2 separate regions of the Homo sapiens genome follow, and region 1 is linked to region 2. Evidence: promoter capture Hi-C in 16 types of primary human blood cells and fetal thymus (Javierre and others, 2016). All regions are on one chromosome and are shown on one strand. Each heading gives the region's core, a stretch centred on a gene start or on the middle of the fragment in contact. The rest is flanking DNA. Distances are from core to core; before and after follow the strand shown.

The links. Contacts are between HindIII fragments. The CHiCAGO score rates a contact against its expected background, and 5 or more counts as called.
Region 1: a fragment that was not itself captured here is called in contact with the fragment with the promoter of CSMD2 in region 2 in 1 of 17 cell types (erythroblasts); the score reaches 5.3 in erythroblasts.

What each region holds. Positions count from the first base shown.
Region 1 is chr1:34,597,376-34,600,075 of GRCh38, forward strand. All of the region lies in intron 3 of LOC105378641 (a long non-coding RNA gene), which reads right to left. Among named protein-coding and RNA genes, the nearest start is that of MIR552, 71 kb to the right of the region's middle. The HindIII fragment of the contact is 2,706 bases long and covers 1-2,630 here.
Region 2 is chr1:34,163,901-34,166,600 of GRCh38, forward strand. It overlaps CSMD2 (CUB and Sushi multiple domains 2), which reads right to left and starts at 1,330. Exons shown (of 71, transcript NM_001281956.2): 1 at 1,011-1,330. The coding sequence starts at 1,197. The HindIII fragment of the contact is 6,831 bases long and covers 1-2,700 here.

The DNA.
Region 1 (2,700 bases), core at 28-2,527, 430 kb after region 2:
TGGGAAGTACATTTCTCTCCTAGAGGTTTGGGGAGAGAAAATGAATATTTGCTGAACAATAAAATACCTAAGTAAAGACAGGAGGCTTTGGGAGGCCGAGGCGGGCAGATCACGAGGTCAGGAGATCGAGACCATCCTGGTTAACACGGTGAAACCCTGTCTCTACTAAAAATACAAAAAATTAGCCAGGCAAGGTGGCGGACGCCTGTAGTCCCAGCTACTCAGGAGGCTGAGGCAGGAGAATGGCGTGAACCCGGGGGCGGCAGAGCCTGCAGTGAGCCGAGATCGCGCCACTGCACTCCAGCCTGGGCAACAGCGAGACTCTGTTTCAAAAAAAAAAAAAAAAGACAGGAGGGCCTGTGTCATCCAACTTTATAGAAGTTTGGGATGGCTCCAAGATAGTGCAGCACAAGAGGCGAGAGGCTTCCTCCCTTCTTCTCCACCTACAACAGACCACTATTCAGCTTTGGCCCCCTGAACTGTGTCCCTTGAGAGATGGCAGCAATAACAGAGCCCAGTGAAGCAACAGTGGGGCAATAGTGGTGACTGGTGGACACTTCTGGGCCTGGCAGACCAGCAGCAGAGCTCAAAGGGTTGCCCAGGAGTGCAGAGGGAGAGGCTGCAGTGCCCAGCAGAGCAGCAACAGTGCCCGGAGTTCCCAGCACCTGCAGAGCAGCAATGATGTCTGCAGGGCCATGCCCAGTGGAGCAGCAGCACCCCCTAGAGGGCAACTTGGTGCTCACTGAAACAGCAGCATATGTGTCCAGAAGTGCCAGAGACGTCCCAGGGATTCTTGGGAAACTGCGAGATTTTTCAGAGGGTGGTAAGGTGGGGACACAAGACAGTGAAATTTGAGCCATTTCTGTTACCCATGATTTCATTGATACCCATGGACTAGTGGATCCTGGGGAAATTTCTATTATATAAAGTGGGATATCTAACCCTGAATCCCAGACCCCCTCAGAGCGGAGAACAGGTTCCCCAAAATACATACACACACACACACACACACACGAACACACACATACAGAGGGAGGGAGAGAGAGAGAGCACAAATACCCTTAGATCCCACCCATCAGAAAGAAACAGGAGCCTTAGCTTCTCCTAGCATCCCCTTCCTTCTTCCCATAGACTCATCAAATATAGATTTCTACCTATTCTAACCAAGACAGGCCAGTGATCTGTAACTAATCCTGTGCCTGGAGGGCAGAGCAGCCTCAATTCTGGGGTCTCAGGAGAAGAACATTGGAATGGCCTCTTTGTGGGGAAGCTCCTCCCTGCTCTCCATCTGTCCAGCCCCACCAAGCCCTGTAGCTGGTGATCATTAAGCAGTAAAGGCATCCCTAATGGTGGCTAATGGCGGGCTTAAGTACTAGTTACCTGAAAGAACCCCTGGGGTTGGCTCACTTACTGTATTGAGTGATCCTGCAGACCCACAGAGCCACTCTTTCTAATGAGGAGAGCGACTGAATGCTGAATTCAAGCCCAGAAAATGGCTGGGGAGAGAAGGGGAGCCTGCCAAGGCCCTCTATAAGGGTCCAATGTGAAAGCACAGCCCTCCTCTTGCTGTTCCTCTGTGGCTCCAGTTGCCCAGGCTGCCCTGAAGGGGTTGAATAGGGAATATGGCATTAATAGTTAGCAGCTGAGGCTTTCAGGCCAGCCCCAACTTTCACCTCCACTCTATCTCAGTCACCAATCCCATGACAACAGCCTGGAGCCCTTGCTTCCCCAGAGCTGCCCTGCTTCAAAAATCCATTCTGCATCTGGTTGCCTGCCTTCCAGGCTCCTCCCACCTGCCTCCCACCACTCCTGCCTTTCCTTGCATATTCTCTATACCAGTCATGACCACACATTTCTCCCAAGTGTTCAAGCCACAAACTTAGATATCCGTCCTCTCCTTTGAATCTATCACCAAATCCTACGATTCTTCCTTCTAAATGTCTCTTAATTCTACCCAGCCCTCTCTATCTTCCTTGGGCAACTTCCCATCATCTCTCACTTGGCCCACTTTGGTGGACCTCAATGGCAAGGACCCTGTTGTATCCATCTTTGTATCTCAAATGTTGGACCCAGGCCTGGCACAAGATAAGAAATCCTGAAATTCTTATCAAATGAATGGGCCAAAACATATTCATGGCATTGTTCTCAGTTTGCGTCCCTTCCCCAGTACTAGCTGTATGTACTTGGACTGGTCACTTGTCTGCTCTCAGCCTCTGAATCTCCACCTGATACGCAGAGAATTCAATCTCAAGTAGAATTGTTGTAGAGATAGAAGTAAATAATACTATAATAGAAGGAATTCGTTACGTTAATAACAAAATGAGAAACAATGACTTAAGCCAAGCAGGGCTTTTCTTTCTTCTCTGGTAAGAAGAAAGCCTCTAGAAGATGTTGTTGCTATGTTGGCCCAAAGGCACAGGGACATCTAGGCCAAGACTTCTACCACATTCTTAGCCTTTTCCTTATGATTAACTTGTGGTTGCAAAATGGCAGCTGTGCCTCCAACATCAGCCCACATTCCAGGTAGAAAGAAGGGGAAATGCCACGGGCAATGAACAAAAGGAGTTCATACTAACTGAATCTGCCATTTTTAAAGAACTCCATGCAGTTTCAATTTGGCCAAAAAATAAAGCTTTGGACCAGACATCAAATATCTGCCTCAATGGCTGTATCAGTCAAGGTTTTTGTTAAAGGTACTGG
Region 2 (2,700 bases), core at 80-2,579:
CGGCCAGTAGCCTCCACAGGGGACCGGGTTCCCTCGAAGGTTCGCGTACCTCCCCCGCGCGCTGCAAGCTGCAGCCAGACACCCGCGAAGTTCCGGGACTCTCCGCACCCGCTAGATCTGCCCCTTCCCGGACTCGGTCGTCGGGAGCTGGTCCCGCCGCCCGCGCCGCCGCTGCCGCTGCCGCAGCCGAGGCGCTCGGCTGCAGCAGGGCGCGGGAAAGGGCACTTTGGCGCGGAGTGAGCACCGAGGGGAATGTGGCAGCGCGAAGCCTGGCGGCGGCACTCCCTCCCCCGCCTCGGGCTACAACCCCCACCCCCTCCTTCCCATCCCTCAACACCCTCCAGCCCCCACCTGCACCCTCCTGCAAGGAATGCGCGGGACCCCCACCGTGGGCACGCGTCCACCTGAACCCCCTCCTAGCTCCGAGCGCCGAGGGAGGGGTAGCATTTGAGGAGGGGGATGGCGGCCGCAGTCTGCAGTCGGTTCCAGAGGGGGCACCGGTTTCAATTGGAGAAAATGGGCGGGGGCAGGGAAGGGCAGACCTTGCAGACGCAGAAATGGGGAGGGGGCGCACGGTTCCTCTCCAGCCCCCAGGACCAGCGTGCCTGGCAGAATCAGGAGCCGGGGGAGTAGGGCTCCCGGAAAGTTTATCGGGAAAAAGCCTAGCACCGTGGGGGCTGGGAGGCTGGAGAAACTGAAGCCACAGACCAGGTGCCCCGCAACCCCGGGCGGGGATGTCTGTCTCCCAGGCCCCCACACCGGCCGCATCCGTCCAAGTTGCGGCTGGGGTTGGGGCAGCAGTGAGGGTGAGGGTGGAGGTGAGGACGTGGCTGAGGGTGGGGTGGGAGACGGAGGCAGGGATGAGAATGAGAGTAGGCAACTGGGAGGGTGGGAGATTCAGGCAGGGATAGAGGCGGGGGGAGGGACTGGGACCGGGTCGAGGATGGGTGGGCTCGGGGCTCGGGTGGGGCGCGCGGCGGCCGCTGGCTCCTCGGCGCGGCTGGACTCACCCGCGGCGGCCGAGACGCTGAGCAACCCACAGCCCAGCAACAGCAGCAGAGGCGGCGGCGTTGGCGGCGGCGGGCGGCCCCAGCGGCTCCCGGCGCCCGGCACAAGCGCCGAAATCCCGGTTTCGCCGCGAGCCCTCCCCGCGGGGCAGCCGCAGCGCCCCAGCTCCCGTCCCCGCGAGCGCGGCATGGCGCGGCCGGCAGCGCCGAGGGAGAGGCTCCGCTCGCCGCCGAGGAGAAAGGAGGTCAGGAGAGCTCTGGAGCTTTTTTCTGCTCGGAAAAAATCCCGGTACGCGGGAGCCCTGAGCTTCTGCGGCTGGAATGAACCAAGTGTCCGCCCGGCCGGGGAGAGGCGCGCTGCGCTCTCGGAAATGACTCGCTCCAATCCCGCTTCGCGGGGTTCGCGCCGGGGGGCGGGAGGGGGTGAATTATCCCCGGATTAATCACTCCGGAGCCGCTTCTCCGCCGCTCCAAATGCTGGGGGTGGAGGCGCAGCTAAGGATAAAATATTGGGGGGCGGGGGTTCCTCTTCAGCGCCACCTCCACCTCCAGATAAACCACAAATTACATCTAAAGGGTTGTTTATCCGTGTCTGTTTTGCAATTGACCAGTTTCTTTTAAGTTCAGTCCTCCTGTTTTCATTTATAACATCACCCATTAATACACCCCCCTCTCCACACACACACACACAAACACACACACACACACACAGTGACAGAGACACACGCACTCACACACACAGGCACATACACGCACACCTCTTCCACGTTTGGAAATTGGAATCCTGTCTGGGAAAAGGTAACCAAAGAAGGACGCGTTCCCCAAGTCTTGGCTCTTACCAGCTGATCTTGGGTGGTGGCTTTGAACTTGCCATCTAGGGCCGGGGGCGATGCTTATGAGCCTCATTCACAATAGCCTCCTACCCCATCCCAGGAGAGGGGCGTGTGTGCGTAGACAGAGGCAGGGTTAAGAATTGGAGGGCGGTGGAGGGGGGTTGTGTGTGGGGTGGGGAGGGGGGGGAACCGGTTCATTTGACCCAGTGCGGTCCCACTCCTACCCTAAGACAAAAATCTCAGGGTGGCAGAGGCGGTCCCTGTGTGCACGCGAGTTGGGGGTGGGGAGTGAGGTTGGTGGAAGGACGGTGCAAGAGTTACTAGTACAATTTATCCCCAAATTTAAATAATCGGATCCTACTTCTTCTTCTCCCCTTCCTCCTCCCAGCCAAGGCCCCAAACCAAGAGAGTTCTTCCCAAGGACGTGAGCTGCTCCCCACCTCTCCCCAGTAGCGGCTGCCTCTAGGCCCCAAGGGCTTAGTGTCGGTCCCCACCCCATCCCCCACCCGACTCGGTCGCCGTCTCTGTCTCGTCTACTCCAGGCTTCTCCGCCAGTCACGATGGCTCCTTCGCTGTCTACGCCAAACTCTCGGCGAGAGGGAAGAGACGCTTCATGGGGGGAGGCTGGAGGAAACTGGGAGGGGCAAGGTCCAGAGAGGAGGCTTCTGCTGGCGCGTGCAGTGGAAAGGCACCTGCGATGGGCACCCCCGCCCCCTTTGCCGACACACCCCAGAGAAGCTGTGCTCCGGGCTTAGGGCAGCCTGATTTGGCCAAAACGGAGCGTTGGCATCTGTGTGGCCAAGGGGGCAGTGGCCGGCGGGCGGTGGGGCCTGAGAATTTCCGGGGAAGGGTGTGGAGAG